Regions from separate parts of the Homo sapiens genome. Here regions 2, 3 and 4 are each linked to region 1. The links are contacts of gene promoters, found by promoter capture Hi-C in blood cells and fetal thymus (Javierre and others, 2016). All regions are on one chromosome and are shown on one strand. Each heading gives the region's core, a stretch centred on a gene start or on the middle of the fragment in contact. The rest is flanking DNA. Distances are from core to core; before and after follow the strand shown.

Region 1 (4,859 bases), core at 2,360-4,859:
AGATCCCCAGGAACCTCATCTAATCCAAAACCAAAAGATTTGGGAAATGTGACCTTTAGAGGGGAGTAGCATTAAGAAGCAAAATGATACTTATTAATTCTGTTGCTTATTTGACTGTAACCAGTATAATAAATGATCATATTCTGCTCGATTTAATTCCCCCTCCCCATAAGTTTCACAAGACCAGAAGGAGTTTCTTCTTCCCATTGGTCTTACATTAATATTCTTGTACGGCTTTCACTAAATAGATGCCGTGTTCTGCCCTGGAGGTAACACCACGTCATTAGGAGGAGATGATAGACAGAAATATATACAAACACACACTTGCTTTCAAAAATAAATATAGGCCCTCTAGTTAAAAGGTATTGTGTAAAGTGTGTGAGCATCCTCTTTCTTGCAAAGCAAGCACACAGCTTCCATTAATCTTGTAGCCACAGCCTGTGTTGGTGTTAAGACTCAGATTCCTTAATGCTTGATACTTGGCTTAAAGAGATTCTTTGTCCTGGCCTTGATTTGGGAATTAAGATCCCTAGGGTTTTTGGTTTTACAGTATGGATCTTCTAGGAGACAACCCGACTGACCTCCGGGTCTCCAGGCCACCACACACAACCTGGTTTGCTTTGCTCTGTTCCCCTTTTCCTCTGTGGGGACCAGCACAGGACTCAACTCAAGGGCTCTGTGTCTGTGCACAGGTTGGAGAGGGTGATAGGGCCTTGACCTGTAGGGACAACCAGGAAGATTTCTATGCAGAGTAATTGGGTTTCTAGAGTTTGTTTCAGTTGATTTGAGGGCAAGCTGCTTGGCCTCTCTCTCTTGATTCTTCCCATCCACAGAATAAAGACAATCAGCTTTGTTTATCACTCTGTTCATTTTGCTATGTCTTTATCAGCCCCCCAGAGAATTCAGGAGCACAGAACAAGTGCTGGAGGTCTCTCTTGCCAGAGTCCTCCTTGAGAACTTACAATGTGTCCATATTAAGGATCTGCTGTGTTTGATGATTTTGTGATTACACTTTAAACTTCTTATCCATAAAGGACATACTTGATATATCTGAGACTTGTAGTAGAAGGCCTTGAGACATCCATCTCATCCCATCATTATCTATCTATCATCTATCTATCTATCTATCTATCTATCTATCTATCTATCTATCTATCTATCATCTATCTATCTATCGCCAGTACTGTCTTGTTGAAGTTGGCAGTAGGGTGAAAGACCTCAAACTCCAAAGGACTTTCCGTATGGATGCAATATACCTGCAATTCTAGCTTTTTTGTGTTTTTTTTTTTAGGTTGGGGGTGAGGGGTATTGTTTTCATTTTTGTTTTTCTTCTGGAAGGTTCAACTAAGACCCAAGTAAAAAGAAGAATCAATACTTAATAAGTACCCAGCAAGTAGCAGGCACACTTTTAGGTACTTTATTTACAAAAAAACCTCCACAAATAAAGTGGCTTGTGAGTATGAGGTGACATCTTTCCCTCCCCTCCCACCATCACTACCCCAATATGACTCGTCTCAATAGCCCTCCAATCTAAAATGGACTAAATACAAGTGGATAAAGAAATGGAGATTTAACCAGAATTCTTCAGCTATAAATTACAGGGCCTATAATTAAAGGTGATTGGGACTGGGTCAGAGAGCCACATCACTTTTGTGGTTGCATTTGAAGTTCACTATCTCTTGACCACACAACCCTAGCCCTTCTACTCCCACCCTGCTGTCTCAGGTTAATCTCAGGCAATGGTGTAAAGAAGGCCAAGTTTGTTTCCCTGGAGTCCCACGGGCTCTAGCAATAATGCTTCCCTTTTCTCATGAGTGCCCCGCCACCCACCCCCCTTCACCATCACTACACACAAATGCCCTGCAGTGGGTGGAATGTAGTTACTTCAGGTTGTGCCTGATTTGTCTCTCAAGCAAAACTCCAGCAGGCCATTCCCTCAGGGCCCTGCTCTCAGATCTGGAACTGATAGACTAATTGGGGCTAATGTGATAATGGGAAATAATGAAATTTGTTGTTTTTATCAGTGTGTATATGGGGCGGGGTTTACATTTGCATTTTCACAGGGCCCTTGGCAAGTTCACAGGGTTGAACAGTTGGGAAGGGTGGGAATGTCTGGGGCAGGTTAGGGAGGCAGAGGGATTTATTAGAACTCCCCTAAACTGCACTGACCAAAGCCTCAAGCCCTTCTTCAAGACCTGCCCAGCTTCCAAGACCTTCCCAAGTCCACCCTTGTTTTCCCACTGAGTCTTTTACACTTTCAGAAACCTCTGAATTTGTGTAGAAACTAGAAAAAATAAGTAAGAAAAGACTAATACTACTGCACACTCACTGTTCCCCCTTAATATAATAACCAGTTTTTATTCTATTCAGTCAGCCTTTGACCATAAGCAGACCTTTTTTTTTCTTTTTAACACAAGTAACTTCTTGGTTTTGATCACAAAATCTTTATCTCTGCCAAATCTCAACTTCCCTTCCCTCTCCCACAAAAGGGAGGCCCGTTGAGTCAAAGAAATCTGCTTAGACACTTTGCTCATGCCAGGCCAGTGTCCTGGAAGGTTCAACAGAGAAAGTTAATGGTTGGGGGATGGTATTTTTCTTTGCTAGGAGCAGTCATTCACCCGTATGGGAGAAGGTACATTTGTGACCCAGTGAAGCAGGTACAGGTAACTCCCCATATGTCCCTTGGCCCAAGGGAATAGAGGTTGCCTGGGTATTTGAATCCGTAGATCCTCCCTAATATTCCACCTTCTTCTTGTCCAAACTGTGCTTTTTTATTTCCAGTTTCAGCATTTTGGTCTTCTCATCTCTAACTCTTATAGGGAGTGTCAATAAACCTTTTAAAAAAGATCATGTAAGTGTCAAGAGGAAGTGAAGAACCTAGATAATCCACCAACCGGATAATCAGCTCTTGCATATTTGAGAGTTGACTGCTTGACCTAAGCATCTCCTCATAAGGTACCCTCCCTCCCAGGACCTTCCCTTTCAAACCTCTCAAGGCTCTTACCTGGGGCCAGGGGAGATAGGCTTTTCAAAGTCCATTGAATTGCCAAGAGTCTCTGTCAAGAAGGCAGTCATGGTGCCTGGAGAGGGAACTTGCTGGGAGCCCCTTCAGAGCCTGGTACTTATAGAGCTAGGGAAAAGATCTTGATGCCAAAGCAGGGTGGACTAAATACAGACTAATAAATGAGACAGGTGCTCAAGAGGGCCCCTCCATACCATCATCTCCTCCAGATTTGGACTTCTACTCACTTTGCTTTTACATTCCCTCTTCCCGATGGTGTCTTTGGTGAGCAGGGTGCTTTTCACCTGAAACAGCCTCTGAGCTGAAAAGAACAGTCACCACCAAATCAATTCCTCATCCATTAACAGGTTGTCTCTCTGTTCTTGAGACACAGGCATTACCTGGTTAGACCTGTTTTGTTTGAACACTAACGTGTGAGTTGGCCAAATGCAAATGAGCCAGTGTTTGTAATCCTTTATTTTATTTTTTTAAAGGGCTGGGTAGCCAATCAGAAGAGGGGGAAGTGACTTAGGGAATTCCCGGTTGGTGGCTTATTGCTTAACATCCTACAAAATGATTTAAAATTATTGTTATATGCATTTATCTTCACTCTGATGAGGGCTCAGACTTGATAACACCCGTGGTGCCCCATCCCTATAGGAGCTGGTGAGATTGCAGCCTGCTGCCTCCCCTCCAACAGCCACAGCTATTGGATTTCCCACCCAGAATCTTTAGGTAAATGAGGTAAGTCCTGATTTTTAAAACTTCTTTTGAATCTGGAATCCAAACACTTGAGTGGAAAGAGAAGCCTGCTTTAAACTGGACAGATGAAACTAGAACAGACTCTTGGAGACGGCTGGCAGGAAGTGAAGCTCACCTTACCTGGGCTTACCTCACTGGGTCAAATCAGAATTTTATTTTGGAGGGCAGGTTGGCTACTTTGGATATTATCTGTGAATTTCCTGCATTGTCTGGACTTCTAATCTCTGTGAATTTAAAAGCCCCCTCGTTTCCCTATGCCTGGGTGGCAAAACCATTCCCCTGGGTTGAATTCTTCTGGAACAAATAGGCAGCTAGAGATAGGTGGCTCTGATATAGCTCAGAGAAGAAGTGGTTGGCTAAGTAGCTGTTAGGGCTCAGAGTACACGGTCTCGCTTTCTAGAGATGTCTTCTGCTGGTAATTTTTCTGACTTATGAGCTACATGGAAAGGCCAATTTGTTTTTAATATGTTCCAGGACTGGAAAATGGCTAGAAATAGGCAAGAACATACACAATCACACTGGAAAAAGTGGCCAGGCAGCCAAGGCAGGCAGAGGTATTGGGGAGAGCTGAATATCTACAAAAACAAAAATTCAGAAAAAACAAAAATCAATTTTGGCAAAGGGCTTCACTGTATAACAAGGGGACAAGCTAACCCTTTGTTTACAAACTAACCCTTTGTTTACTCCATTTTGTCCAGAAAATACAACAATCAGTTTTGGCAAAGGGCTTCACTGTGTAACAAGGGGACAAACTAACCCTTTGTTTACTCCATTTTGGGAGACTATGATCAGACAGGCAGTTGTGACTCAGCAGCAACAAATGCCTTCTGAGACAGGGATTCTTTTGATTTTGCTTGGACATTGTGGAGAAGTGTTAGCCCCAATGTGGACTGATCTGGGAACAGTGGGAAATTAACTTCTTGTTGGTAAATATCAGGCTGAGGTGAGAAAGCGACATTTTCACCGTCCATCTTTGCTGATTTACCATGCTCCCAGGATGGTGGGAGTGTGTGTTTTTAAGATGGAGAGTGTATGCTTCTGGGTTCAAGTTCACAGGTGTCTCTGCTGGTTATCTGCACTCACCTTGGTAACAGGG
Region 2 (4,859 bases), core at 1-2,500, 910 kb after region 1:
AATTGCTGAAAGTCGGCAAGCTTTTCTCCTTCATAGTTAATATGCTCCTGAATCACTTGGGGAAACCTGTTCTTGACATCCATATGTATATTTATAAACTTCAATTTTTAAAAATGTTGTCTGCTATGCAACTGAACTGCAAAGCTTTACAGAGAACACTGGCAAAAACGTTGACCACAGTCCAAGTGGCTAACTCAAAAACAGTTGAGTCATTTGGGTAGGGAAGAAAACAAAAAATAGAATAACTCCAAGAGAAGGTAATGGAGTACAGTGGCACACAAAAAAGTCACTGTGGTGAAAAGATCCCCATATGGATCAAGGCTCTACTATGTATGAACCTGGGCAAGTCCATCAGTCCCTCTGAGTTTCAGTGTCCTCCTCTGTCAAAAGGGGTAATAGCTACCTCTGAATTTTGGTGAGAAGACTACAATGATGCTGTTATACATAATAGGAGCTCAATCAATGTGTACCATTTTTTAATATTATAACTACTGTAACTATCTATCTATGAGCACCTCATCTTGGAGTTGTTAAAAATAGGATGGAGAGAAGTGGCTTGAACTGAGAGGCACTGAGGAGGTTAGAAGGATGAGATCTGTGATTGATGATACATGGAGGATAACAGTGAGAGAGCAGTCAAAGATGATTCCCAGTTTAATGACCATGTGGTGGTGGCTGGTGCATGGTGGTGTGCTGGAGGAGCCCCTTTGTTCTCTGTCTCTCTCAGATTACTCTGTCTGGGAGAATCTGGGAACAACCCTGTGGAGAGTCTTACATGGAGAGGAAGTGAAGCCTCTTGACAGTAGTCACCTGAATGAGCTTGAGAACATATCCCCCAGTCCTTCAAATGACTGCAGCCCCAGCCAGCAACTTGGCTGCAACCTCATGAGAGACTCCTAGCCAGAACCACCCAGCTAAGCTGCTCCCAGATTCCTGACAGTCAGAAACTGGGCAAGATAATGCATTTTATTGTTTTAAGCAACTAAATGTGTTAGTTCATTCAGGCTGCTGAATAAAATGCCATAAACTGGGTGGCTTATAAACAACAGAAATGTATTTCTCTCAGTCCTCAAGGCTGCGAATTCCAAGGTCAAAGTCCCAGGAGATTTGTTGTCTGGTGAGGTCTCACTTTCTGGTTCACAGATGATGTGGTTCACAGCTGAGTCCTCACATGGTGGAAGGGAAGAGCCCTGATCTCTTCAGTCACCACTATGGTCTGAATGTTTGTGTACCCTAAAAATGTATTGAAACCTAATCCCAAATGTGGTGGTATTAAGAGGTGGGAACTTGAGGGTGTGACTAGGTCATGAGGGCAGAGCCTTCATGAAGGAGATTGGTATTCTTATAAAAGAGGCCTGAGGGAGATTGTTTGCTCTTTCTGCAATGTTAGGACACAGCAAGAAGGCACCATCTATGAAGCAGAGAGTGAGCCCTCACCAGACACTGAGTCTGCTGACACTATGGGCTTGGACTTCCCAGCCTCCAGAATTGTGAGCAATAAATTTCTATTGTCTATAAATTGTATTTTTCTTATAGCAGCCTGATTGTACTAGGACAGCCCCATATGCATCTACCAATCCAATTCATGAGGGCTCCACCCTCATGACTTAACCATCACCCAAAGGCTCCACCTCCAAACATTGTAACAGTGGGGATTAGTGTTAAATATATAAATTGGGGGAAATCATAAACAATCAGACCATAGCACACAGAAATAAAATACAAATACAAAAGGTTTCTGGATTGGGCAACATGGGTTAAAGGAGAAACTAAAACTGTCTATATATCAGTAAACATGCAGCCAAATGAAAACTGCCAGCCCAGCCACATTTAATATAGATATTATTGAGCCTAAGGACTCAACAACGAGGAATGTTTAAATAGAGTTAGATTATCGCAGTTAGGAGGCTTCCCTGTACATAAAAACAAACCAAATTCATGTGGCTTAAATAACAAGGAATTTTATTTTCTCATATAACAATAAGCCCACAGGTAGAATGGCTCCAGAGTTGTTTAATCCTGTGGCTCAACAACAATGTAAAATACCCAGGACCAAATTACCAAAAGATATCTACAGCATGCAAGCATTTATATAAAATCTCAGAACATACAAAAAATAGCATGCATTATTTATAAATATAAGCACATATCATTAAACTACTAAAACATATAAAGAAATGACATTTCTTTCTTTAAGATAGCAGTTACTGCTGAGAAGGAAGCGCAGAGCAAAATATGGGGTATGAAATTTTTAGCAAAAATTTAAAAGAAGCACAGGCAAAATTTGAAATAATTGAAGCAAAATGTTAACATCTGTTTCATCTTTGAGATGAGTACATAGGTATCTGTTATTACCTAAGCTTTTTTTATATGCTTGGATTGTTTATAATTATATATAAATTTTATAGCGCTATAAAGATGACATAAGGGGGGAACACATAGGAAACCATTTTCAGACGGATAAAGAAAACAAGCATTTATCGATTTATTTCAGAAACCATTTTGAGTGTCTGCTATACGCCAGGCACTATTCTAGGCAGTGGGGATAACATGGTGAGCAAGATGAATGATTCCCATTTTTATGGAGTTCACTTACTGCCAGACAAAAATATGCAATAAAGAAAGAAAACCAGATGATGATAGTGTTAGAAATGAAACAGGAGAATATGCTAGAAAGTGACTATTTTGTGGAATCAGGGCAGGCCTCTATGAGAAGGTGACATTTAAACTGAAAACTGAGGTTAACAAAAAAAAAAGAAAACCATCCATGGGAGCCTCTGAGGAAAGGACACTCTAGGCAGAGGGAACAGCTAATGCAAAAGGCCTGAGCTGGGAATGGGCTTAGTGTTCTTGCAGAGCACAAAGAAGGCCAGAGCAGCTGGCATCGAAGTACATCATCAACTCTTTAAACAAGAAAGAATATGAAAAGGGCCTGGAGAAAATGGAAGGATCAAGGGAGGCTTCATATCAGTGTAACTTTATCGTTTGAGTGTTAAAGAATCCTTTGAGAATTCAATAAAAAGGTATGGATTCTAGAAAAATATACATGCATTCTGATATTTGCTTACGGTTTCAGGATATGTGGGGACCCTCTCAAGCCTATCCAAAATGACCTAACTCCCACATTTGAGCCAAGGCCACATTCTTCCCAGGCAGCCCCCAGTCAATGAGGGTACAGGGGAAAAGGCTCTGAAACTGCCATCCTCTCACTAAGATAGTGAATCAAGACAATATCACATTCAAAGGGTATAGTTGGAGATTGTTGTCACCCCTAAAGATCTTAATGACGCAGCGATGATAAACTCTGTCATATATCCCTATCTCAACTTAATTCACCAGTCTAGTCCCTGCCAAATGTAGAATAATTGTAGATTACCACATGTTCAACCAAGTAGTAGATCCAATTATGGCTGCCTTATCATGCATGGTCTCATTGCTAGAGAAGATCTATGTCAACTCAGGTGCGTGATATGCAGCCAATGAGTTCTTTTCTGTTACAATCAGAGAAGAGAATCAGAAACAATTTTGTTCATGTGCAATGGACAATAATATGCATGTATGGTACTGTCCCAAGTGTATGTTAACTCTCTTGCAGTCATCACAATGTAGTCAGAAACAATCTGGAGTATCTGGACATCTTGCAGGATAACACATTGATCCATTACATCAATAACAGAGCAGGGAGAGTAAAAGGTGGCTAGCACACTGGAGGCCTTGGTGAAACAACTCACTTCAGATGGTAGGAGATAAACTCTATGTAGCTGCATGAACATGGTGCATTGGTAAAATTGTTAGGGATCCAGTGATTAGGAGAATGCTGAGAGATCCTGTTCAAAGTAAAGGATAAAATGCTGCATCTTGCATCCTCTATTACAAAGAATGAAGTACAATGTCTGGCATTGGTTGCCTCCAGAACCCTTCTTTGGTTGGGCTCTGGAGACAATACATTTCACACCTCTCAATGCCACTTCAACCCAGGAGACCTAAAAGGTAGCTGACTGCATAGGGCCTGGAGCAACAAAGGGATCTATAGTCAGTCCCGGCTGTAATGCAAGTAGCTTGGCCACATGGAACATATGACCTGGCAAAAGATTTTGTGTTGGAGATGTCAATGGGGGCAAAAGGTGCATTATGGATCTATGCAAGCCCCAGTGGGAGAATCAACTTAAGCCCCTGATGTTCTGGACCAAGGTCATGCCATCTGCAGCAGAGAATTCTATGCTTTTTGAAGAGTGAATACTGGAATGTTCCTAGACCCCAGTGGACATAGAACACCTGACCCTGGGGTATCAAATGACCCCAAGTATGAAACTCTCCATCATGAGCTGAGTTCTATCAGACCCTCCAAGTCCTAAAGTTATACAAGCCCATGGCAATCCATCTTAAGATGGAAATGGTCCATCCAGAATCAAACCCAAGCAGGACCAGAGGGAACAATCAAGCTTCATGAGTGGAAACTCCAGACCCACATGCCATCCTCCATGGCTGTCCAGTGCCCCTCTCTCAGCTTGCACTGTGGCCATATGGTTAGGGGAATTCCCAGTACAACTATCTGAAGGAGGGAACCCCAAGCTTGGTTTACAGGTGGGACATCTTGGTTGTTGAGTGCAAGCTGAAGGTGGGTGGTAAGTACATTGCAGCCACTTTCAAGAGTAGCTTTGAAAGACAGTGCTGAGAAAAGATCTTTCCAATGGGTGGAGCTTTGAGTAGTGTACCTTGTCATCTGCTTTGTGTGGAAGGAGAAGTGGTCTGAGGTGAGAATATGTTTGTAGACTCATGGGCTGGGGTGAATGACTTTGCTGGCTGATCAGGAGCCTGAAGTGAAATGGACTGAATAGTTGGAGCCAAGAAAGTCTATA
Region 3 (4,859 bases), core at 1,250-3,749, 860 kb after region 1:
GAAGGTCTCAACGAGACTTTGAGCACATGCCACACCCCTGAGAACAGGATGAATAGGGAAAAGGAAGAAGGAAATTAATGTTTCTCAAGCAGCTGGCAATGTGCCAGGCAATTTACATAGATTAATTCATTTAATCCACCCAACAGCTTGGGAAGGGAAGTGGTGTCCTCACAATTTTCCAGCTGGGAAAACAGATAGATGATCAGAGAGTTAAATAAATAACTTGTCTAGCCGCTAAGTGACGGAGCAAAGACTCAAACCTAACTGTGTTTGAATGTAAAGTTCGAGCCACCCTATCATCCTTCCTCTCCAGGCCTGACAAATGCCAGCCTGCTGCCCCTACCTTAAAAGGCTCAGAAAGTAGACCCTCCCCACAGCTCTACTCACTTTCCTCCACCATCCAGGCAGGAAATCAAGGCATTAATTTATTCTATGAGTAGTTATGTAATAAATGCCTCTTTAATGCATGACAGTGGAAAGGAGAGATGATTTCCAACCAGTTGGACTGGATTGATGATTTTCTCATTCTTTTCTTGCTCCCAACCCCTTTTGTTCAAATAAAGTCCTATCAAGATCACCAATAAAACTCAATGTATAAAAAAGGGGCTCCTGGTTAAAGCAGAAGTAGGGGCCCAAAACCCTCCACCCCGATCCTTACCTAGTCTGCTGAGTTACCTCCAAGGAATCCCTAAGATTTGAAAACCACCGTATTGAATAGTCTTTAAATTAGATCATGTTTTCTAGTGTTAAGATAAGCACAGGTATAGAAAATGCACTGTATTTTTGTACCCAAAAGTTTGGGGAAAATGTCTTGAAGTGGCTCTATGGAAAAATTATTTGGATCATGAAATAAATGATATTCTCTACCTGGGGGTTGCACACTATGATCCTTGGGCCAAATACAGCCCACTGCCTCCTTTTGAAAATAAGGTTTTATTGGAACACAGTGACACCCATTCATTTATGTATTGCCTATGGCTGTTTTTGGACTATCATGGCAGAGTTAAGTAATTATAGCAAGAGACAGTAGGCCCCATGAAAATGAAAATACTTACTATCCGGCTATTCACATAAAAAGTTTACCTTCCCTATTTCTATACAGAAATCCAGATTGCCTTCTTAAACTTGGATGCATAGTTATATTCAATAACTCCCCAAAAGTACAAAATTTCATAACTAAAAATAAAAATATTACTAGTGGATACTGCACCATGGCAAGATGACAGTAGTAATATTTCTAGTGTTAGGAAAAGAGCCCAAACTCCACTTTTGACAAAGCTATGAGGTCTGAGGCTTCTTACTTTTGTGAAAACTACTGCTAGGTCATACAATCTATCTCTTCACTAAGATCTTTATTGCTGCTGCCCTGTGCCAATGATGGAAAGCATCATCCACCAGTTTCCACTTGGGGCTCCTGTCTAGCCCCAGCCTCCATCATCTCTCTCTGTAATCTCATCTCCTCCTTCATCTCCTAGTAATACGGTTTGGCTGTGCCCCCACCCAAATCTCATCTTTGTAGTTCCCATAATCCCCACATGTCATAGGAGGGACCTGGTGGGATGTAATTTAATCATGGGAAAGGTTACTTTCATGCTGTTCTTGTGATAGTGAGTGAGTTTTCATGAGATCTGATGGTTTTATAAGGGGTTTTCCACCTTCGCTTGGCACTTCTCTCTCCTGCTGCCATGTGAAGAAGGACGCGTTTGCTTCCCCTTCTGCCATGATTGTAAGATCCCTGAGACCTCCCCAGCCACACGGAGCTGTGAGTCAATTAAACCTCTTTCCTTTATAAATTACCCAGTCTCAGATATTTCTACATAGCAGAGTGAAAACAAATACACCCGCCATTCACCCTTGTTCCCGAACATACTGTTGTCCACCTAGCATCCAAAGCCACCTTTTAAATAAATTAATCAGATCACATTATCTTCTTGATTCAAGCCCTCCAAAGGTTCTCCACTGTGCAGACACCTTCCTATGTTATTTGCAGCTCTGCCTTGCTGGCTGCCTAAACCCACACTCCTCCCAGTCTCACATACCACTCATCTGCTTGTCCCCACTGCCCTAGACACAGCCTACTTTCTGTGCCCAACTCCGGCCCTTGTACTTGCTGTTTTCTAAACCTAGAAGGCTCATCTTCTTCTGCATCTCTTTCCTGTAAGAATTAAGCTTATATGATTGCACCACTGCACTCCAGCCTAGGTGACAGAGCAAGACTTCATCTAAAAACATAGAATAATAAAAATAATAAGTTCGACTGCCACTTCTTCAAAGAGGCCTTCCTTGCTATCCAGCTAAAACAGGCCCTCCCAATTCTATGGTCAATATTATTACTCTGCTTTGTTTCCTTCATAATACACACGCCTATTTGAAATTATCTCACTTACTTGCCTACTCCCTTTGATAGAGCTGGGATCTTTTCTAGCTTGTACACCTAGAATGGTACCTGGCATATAACAGGTGCTCACTGCATATTTGTTGAATAAAAGGATGTTGATATTATCATTTGTATTTTCTCATTTAGTCTTCATAAAAAAACACAGAGAACAACATTCATCTCCCCATTTTCTAGATGTGGAACACTAAAGATGGAGAAGTTAAGTGATTTCCCTAAACTCAGATGCCAGGAAGTTAGAAGACTGTAAATCGTTATCCTAATGGTAAAGCAGTGGTTAAGAATAGAGACTGCAGAATCTGACTGCCCTTGGTTTGAAACTCAGCTTTATTTTCCCTAGCCGTGCAGCCTTGGGCAAGTTACTTCCTTTGTCAGAACCTCAGTCAACTTGAATCAAATGTGAATAAAAGTGGCAGCTACTGTATACGGTTTTGTGAAGCTTAAATCGTGCATGGCAAACTCTTAGCAGGAAAATTAGTAAATGTTAGCTGTTTGTATCGAGTGGCAGAGCAGAGATATGACCTTGGATCTGTCTAGTATCAACGCTGAGTCTTTGCTGATATGTTAAACTGTCTTAGGGGCATTCTGACCCAGTCCTCTCCCACTCCATTTTGAAACGGCAGAATTTTTCCACCCCTAAGAGAGATACATGGAATTTTTGCCCGCTCCCTTTTTGAAATGCACGTTCCTTCTCTGCACACCTCACACTCCTCATCGCCCCCATCTACCCATCTGCTGCTGGGCTACGGAAGTGATATGCAGGGTGTGAGAGACAACAAAAGAAGCCTTCCTGCACAGCCCCCGTCCCTCAGGGACTGGCAGCTTCCCAGCCTGTAAGGTGTTAAATCCCAGCTCCCTCAGCAAACCTCCTGCTGGGGATCCCAATTTAGAACCAGCAGCAAATCCTGCCAGCCTGCTCCCAGTTTCTTCTCTCCATATGGAAGCTGGAAGCAGCCAGCTGTGCCTCAGGCCCCTCCCCAAATCCAAGGGAAGGCGGTGCTCATCCCCATTTAGGCTTCCTTGGCACATCCATTTGGGCTTTGGCCAGCTCCAGGGTCTCTTGCAGTCTCTGGAGGGCTCAGTCCCCATCCTCACCCAGATGCCCGATCCCTGGCCATGTGAAATGCTGGACCACCTGTTCCTGTAGCCTCAGGGGCTGTCCTTCAGAAGCAGCCAGGATTCTAAACACATGCAACATCTCCATTCTTCTTAATGAGGTTCCTTTCACTCTGAAGGGGAGGGCAGAGTTGGCCCCAAGATGGGGAACAACTTCCAAACAACCAGAGACAAAGGGGCCACTTCTTGGAAATGTGTTTGGAAGAAGGTATATTAGGGAAACAGCAAGAGGAGGAGGGAGCGCTCCCTCCCCACATCAAGGAATGCCTTCAATTCCCTCTCCACTCTTGCCTCTACTTGGAGAGCTGGCGAGGCTGGGTGCAGGGGCAGCCTGACTACACCTCTCTGTCTAGGGCAGAACAGTGAACACAGCTGAGTGTCCCTGCCAAGGAAGTATCGTTGGCCAACCTAGCAGGTGGTCCTGAGTCTGAAAGACCAGAGCAGGCAAAGAGCCTGGAAGATGTGCTCAGATTCCTTAACAATGTCTTACTGCAGGAGAAGAGGGGTATAGGTGTGTGGGCGTGTGTGTGTGTGTGTGTGTGTCTGTGTGTGTGTAGTGATATCTGTCAGTGAAGCTGGACTGTGCCCTGAGCTCTCAAATCCTGGCCTCATTGCCGATCTTTCCCCATGGCTACGTGCCCAAACAGGAGGGGCGGCTGGATAGTCCCTGCTTCTACAGAACTGAAAGGAAATCTTTATTAATTTCTAGACCAGTAAGACAGCTGGAAAAGGCTCTCAACAAAAATGAACACCCTTAGCCTCAGACAAAAGTCTTCTTATCTTCAGCATTTGGTGCAGGGGAGGGGATTGTGGGAGAGACACACACACTTCTAAGAAGTGGTTGGGTTTTGTTTTTCTTTACTGTTTCCTCTTAGAAAGAAAAGGAGGACTTAAAAAAATTCAGAGAGAGGCATTTGCATTTTCTTTCCTCCTTCAAAGATGACACAGTCTGTGATGCCAGCCGGGGTCCGAATCTTAGTTCGGCCACTTACTAGTTGTGTGACTCTAAAAAAGGCCACTATATTTTCTGAGCCAAGGTCTCTCATTTGGAAATGAGAATATTTGTACCTGCAACAATGTGTTTTTCTCACTTGTCTTAGGGATTAAATGAGATATTGTATGTAAAGCACTTAGCACAGCACCTGGTACATAAAAATGCTCAATAAGTGGCAACAAATATTGTTATTTTTCTCGAGTCTTGTCTGGATCTGAGGCACTGATTGTTTTGGTCCAGGAATCACAGGGGACAGCTCAGGTTCTGACCCACTGCTCCAGGGCTCATGAGAGCCTCATCTCTTCACTGGCTAGAACCCTAAACCCAACAGGTTTAGCATCCCAGACAGTGATA
Region 4 (4,859 bases), core at 735-3,234, 760 kb after region 1:
AAGCAGGTATGATAACATGCCCATTTTACAGATGAAGATACTGAGGCTTAGAAAAATGGAACAACTTGTGCAAGATGACACAGAAACTAAGAAATGAAATCAAACTCAGCTCCATGTTCCTACAAGGCCCGTGGTAACCACTCTGCATTGCTGTCTCTTCACTGAATCACCCACCACTTGTTGGACCTTTACTTACCATTTGTTTCATACTGTGCTTTCCCTGTGGTCCTTGTCAACCTGTCGATATTTTCACTATTACAGAGATTCTGTTAAACCTATTTTGTTTCTTCCTGATCCTCTTGTGTTTGATTGCCCATCATTCCATAGAGTGATTCTTCAAGATGGGCCACAGGGGCAACTAGACCAGTGAAATCTTTGTTTAGCTAACTTATAATGGAACATCATGAATCCATTTCATAGGAAGAAGATACATGATATTTCCAAAAGGACAAAGCATAAGTTTTAACATTCCTCCTAAGGCTGGGTGCGGTGGCTCACGCCTATAATCCCAGCACTTTGGGAGGCCGAGGTGGGTGGATCACTTGAGCTCAGGAGTTCAAGCCCAGCCTGGCCAACATGGTGAAACCCTGTCTCTACTAAAAATACAAAAATTAGCTGGGCGTGGTGGCAGGTGCCTGTAGCCCCAGCTACATGGGAGGCTGAGGCAGGAGAATCACTTGAACCCAGGAGGCAGAGGTTGCAGTGAGCTGCGATCACGCCACTGCACTCCAGCTTGGGCAACAGAGCGAGACTCAGTCTCAAAAAAAAAAAAAAGTCCTCCTAAAGGGTAGGTGAATGATCTAGATCATGCTTTAGACCTTTAAGGTATTATTGTTTCCAGCTCTCTAGGAGTGAAAAAAGCTTAAATGTTTCTTTTGAATCTGAATCTGAAAACTGATCCTGCTTTTCCTACCTGCACGCTCCAAAAGTTAAAAGCCTACACCATCTAAGAAAATTATCAGACATATAGAAAAAAATACATATGCAAAGATGTTCACAACAGTGTTATGACAGAGGAATTTTAGGCATGTCCAAGAGTAAGGGATCAGTTAAGTCAATTGTATAGTGTAGCCATGACTGGAAAACACTCAAACTGGTAGTGTATTAAAAGTTATGTCAAAAAAGAATATAGTGGGGAAACTCTGGCATAATCCTAAAAGAAAAAAGCATGCCTGAAAATACTATGTTAGTTTGACACAAATTTAAAGGACATAAACTAAAATGACAACAGTAATGGGACCTGGGTAAATTAATTTTGTTATGTTGTGTTGCCTTTTTTCTGCCTTTTTTGGTTGAAAGTATTTTTTGTTGTTGTTATTTTTATAATGGTTATTATGAAAGAAATAAGCCTAAGAAAATGCTATATGGCTTAAGGAGATAAAGATGTCATGGGATTATCAGAGAAAAGGAGAGTACAAGCAGAATGTGCCAGTGGGGAGCCCAACTCTGGAGCTGACTGCTTAGGTTTGGATTCTGGTTCTGCTCCTCACTAGCTATGTAACTAGGGCAAGTTACCCAGATTCTCTGTGTTTCAGTTTCCCTGTCTATAAAACAGGGATGGTAAGAATAGTTCCCACCTCATGGGGTTGTTCTGAAGATCACACAAGCTAACATACATGAAGCATTTAAAACAATGCCTGGCATAGAACAGGTTCTATATAAGTTGTTGCTATCATTATGGAATGAACCACCCAAGAGCAAATACCCTGTCTTTCTCATCTCTGTATTCCCAGCACCTCTCCAAGTGTCTGGCTTACAGTAGATGCTTGATCAATGTCATCTGGGTGGATTCTGGAGGGCAGTGCTGATATTTTGAGGAATGGCCACCATGATACCATCTCACTCAGTACATCTATGGTGTGACATCTCCCTCTAGATCCCTTCCATGGGGTTCTTCATGCTGAACGGATGGCAATTGTTCTACTCGCTTGTTTGGAGTACTGACAGTTAACAAGATAAAAGGGACAGAAACTGTACTGCCACAACACAGCAAAGTTTAGCAATGGCCTGCCATCGCCTCCTCTGTTCCAGCCAGGACTTTTTTGGTTGCTTGAAAGAGAAATACGTTCACCCTAGTGCAAATAAAAGAGGAGAGTATCATATTGCTAAGTATAGATATCTCATGGAATCCAAGAACAAGAAACAAAATAGTAATAGAAGCTGTCTTGTCACATGTAACTTAAACCGGTGAGTGGGTGATTCATCAACGAAGTCAGTGAGATCTGGAAATGACTTTTTTAATGATACCATAATTATATAAATATTTTAACTGAAAGTACAGATCCCATGTGGAATATGGAAGATGACTATTCTCATCCACGCAGGTTGCTCCTGGATTGTCTGAGTTCTGATTTCATCCTTTAATCCCATGAATCTTTAAAAAAGTAATGTACAAATAATGAATGTGACCCTACTCCTTCTTGAATAAGGAAGACCCACTCAGAGGCCATCTGCAAAGCATATGGCCATAATTCAAAATGACAAATACATGTTAGATTTAAGAATCCTTAATGAATCTCAAACAGTTGCAGCTTTAGGCTCAGTGGATTAGAAGATATTGATTCATCATTGAAGATTATTTGCTTGTTGAAGTTACCTATGCATTTCCACTGTGGCATATTCACCAGTATCCCAATTTCTGAATGTTCAGAAGATTCACTGGCTTTAGGGGAAAGGAGTATCATCACAGAAGTTTGGCCACTTATATGCTTGTTCTATTGGACAGTTACACAAAGACTTTGAACCATAGAATTTGGGAAATTTAGAAGGATTTTAGAAACCCAATAATCAACCCCTCTAAAGCCTAGAGAGGTGACAGTAAGTAAGATGCTAAGGCTGGGAAGCCCATGGTCTCAGAGTCTCAGTGCAAGATGGCTTCCCTACACAATTGTGTACCCAAAAAGTAACCATCTGCCTAAATATGACACCACTTGTAGAAAGGCAGTTGGTTAAATTTCCCAGATATATGTGGTTTATACAAAGATAAACTAAAGAAGTGATAAAAATGTATGCATATGCTGACAACATCATACTATATCTGGAGAATACAATTTCTAGAGGCCCCAGAGTGACCCAGTGAGACAGTGAAATAGAAATATTCAAAAATAAAAGCTTTCCCCTCACTGCATTCTAAATTGTCATTGAGAAAGGCCAGAAAATGTCCAAGCTCAAACCATCCCTGCCCTCCCCTCCTTTTTATGAATTAGGGTAACAGATGGCTTTTTCAGTACATAGAAGAGAGGTAACAGCTGTTGATAATCTATGACAAGCACATATCAGATGGTTTTTCCATTTCATCCTCATCACAACCCTGAAAGGGAAATATTATCTCCCTTTTACCAGGTGAGCAAACTGAGGCTCAGAGAAGTTAGGCAATTTCCCCAAGGTCACACAGCTAGTCTGTCTATTTCTAAAGCCTACAGGTTTTGTAGTGTTTTGCCTCCCATTCTCCCTAAACAGAAGAACCTGCAGAGGGGTCTGGGTAGCAGTCAAATGTTCTTTCTCAGAACACCTTACAGCGACATGGTTTGGGACCTGTAAGTTATCTCAGAATACCAATTCCACAATGAGCCAGGCCGGCCATCTGCTTTTCTGACTTGATCTTTCCCCAAGATGTGCTATATCAAAGACAGGGAGCTTGGTTTTATTTTTCTCTGATTGCTTGGATTCTCCTTAGCATCTTCTAACCAATCTTATATCATCATATATTATTATAATAGTATTTTTTTCTTGAGCCTGCAGGTTCTCTGGGTGAAACTATGTGTAGAATTTGGCTCATCAAAGTTAGAAGAATTTAGACAAAGGACACAGGAGCAAGGAACACAGTGAAGCTTTAAAAATAATGACAGTTGGCCCGGCGCGGTGGCTCAAGCCTGTAATCCCAGCACTTTAGGAGGCCAAGGCGGGTGGATCACGAGGTCAGGAGATCTAGACCATCCTGGCTAACATGGTGAAACCCCGTCTCTACTAAAATACAAAAAATTAGCCGGGCATGGTGGCGGATGCCTGTAGTCCCAGCTACTCAGGAGGCTGAGGCAGGAGAATGGGGTGAACCCGGGAGGCGGAGCTTGCAGTGAGCCGAGATGGCGCCACTGCACTCCAGCCTGGGCGACAGAGCAAGACTCCATCTCAAAAAAATAAAATAAATAAAATAAAATAAAATAAAAATAATGACAGTTTTCTTTTCTCTGAACCTTAACCATGTTCCCTGCTATATTTCTTTCACACTCTCAGGTTTGTTTTTTCCATGGAATATCTAAATTCTTAGGCCTATCTTGTCTTCTCTCATTCCTCACTCTTTTATTGTGCCAGAAAAAAAAAGATGTCATTTAAAATAAATATGGTTTCCAGATACCTGTAGACGTTGACACCCTCAGTCACTGCTGTAATGAAATTCAGGGATGTCAGTGTACATCAACAATCAACTGAAGAAAGGTGCCGATGAAAAGGCATCAATATGTTACTACTCAGATGGCTATTTCAAGCATCTTCTTTTGAAAGAAATCAAAAGAACATCAATTTTTATTTTTGAAAATTCAAAAAACCCATCAGTTTAAAAGGTTGTATTTTGAAATCATAACAAATTTCAGGTGATTCAACCTTCAAGCAATATTGATATATGGTTTAGGGATAAATCATTTTAAAAGCAATAGCTAACATACTAAGGGGCTTAATGTGTGTCAGGAACTTCTTCATATAGTTCCTATGCATTTATCCTCACAACCACCCCTAAATAATGTGGTCCTACTATTAAACCCATTTTACAAACATGGAAACTGGGACTTAGAAAGCTTAAATACATTCCTTAAAATTACCTTGTCTGAGAAGCTTGGTGACTAACCTGCAGTGCTTTTTCATTT

The links. Contacts are between HindIII fragments. The CHiCAGO score rates a contact against its expected background, and 5 or more counts as called.
Region 2: a contact is called between a fragment that was not itself captured here and the fragment with the promoter of EHF in region 1, in 1 of 17 cell types (activated CD4 T cells). The highest score is 5.1, in activated CD4 T cells.
Region 3: a contact is called between a fragment that was not itself captured here and the fragment with the promoter of EHF in region 1, in 3 of 17 cell types (naive CD4 T cells, activated CD4 T cells and total CD8 T cells). The highest score is 5.4, in naive CD4 T cells.
Region 4: a contact is called between a fragment that was not itself captured here and the fragment with the promoter of EHF in region 1, in 2 of 17 cell types (total CD8 T cells and naive CD8 T cells). The highest score is 5.7, in total CD8 T cells.

The regions. Positions count from the first base shown.
Region 1 is chr11:34,617,484-34,622,342 of GRCh38, forward strand. It overlaps EHF (ETS homologous factor), which reads left to right and starts at 3,610. Exons shown (of 9, transcript NM_012153.6): 1 at 3,610-3,745. RefSeq lists a cis regulatory region at 1,511-1,910. The HindIII fragment of the contact is 6,441 bases long and covers 1-4,859 here.
Region 2 is chr11:35,530,453-35,535,311 of GRCh38, forward strand. No RefSeq gene overlaps it. Among named protein-coding and RNA genes, the nearest start is that of PAMR1, 7.3 kb to the left of the region's middle. The HindIII fragment of the contact is 2,216 bases long and covers 143-2,358 here.
Region 3 is chr11:35,474,804-35,479,662 of GRCh38, forward strand. The region is part of intron 3 of PAMR1 (peptidase domain containing associated with muscle regeneration 1); the gene reads right to left. Among named protein-coding and RNA genes, the nearest start is that of PAMR1, 48 kb to the right of the region's middle. The HindIII fragment of the contact is 665 bases long and covers 2,168-2,832 here.
Region 4 is chr11:35,382,036-35,386,894 of GRCh38, forward strand. The region is part of intron 1 of SLC1A2 (solute carrier family 1 member 2); the gene reads right to left. Among named protein-coding and RNA genes, the nearest start is that of SLC1A2-AS2, 35 kb to the right of the region's middle. The HindIII fragment of the contact is 2,250 bases long and covers 860-3,109 here.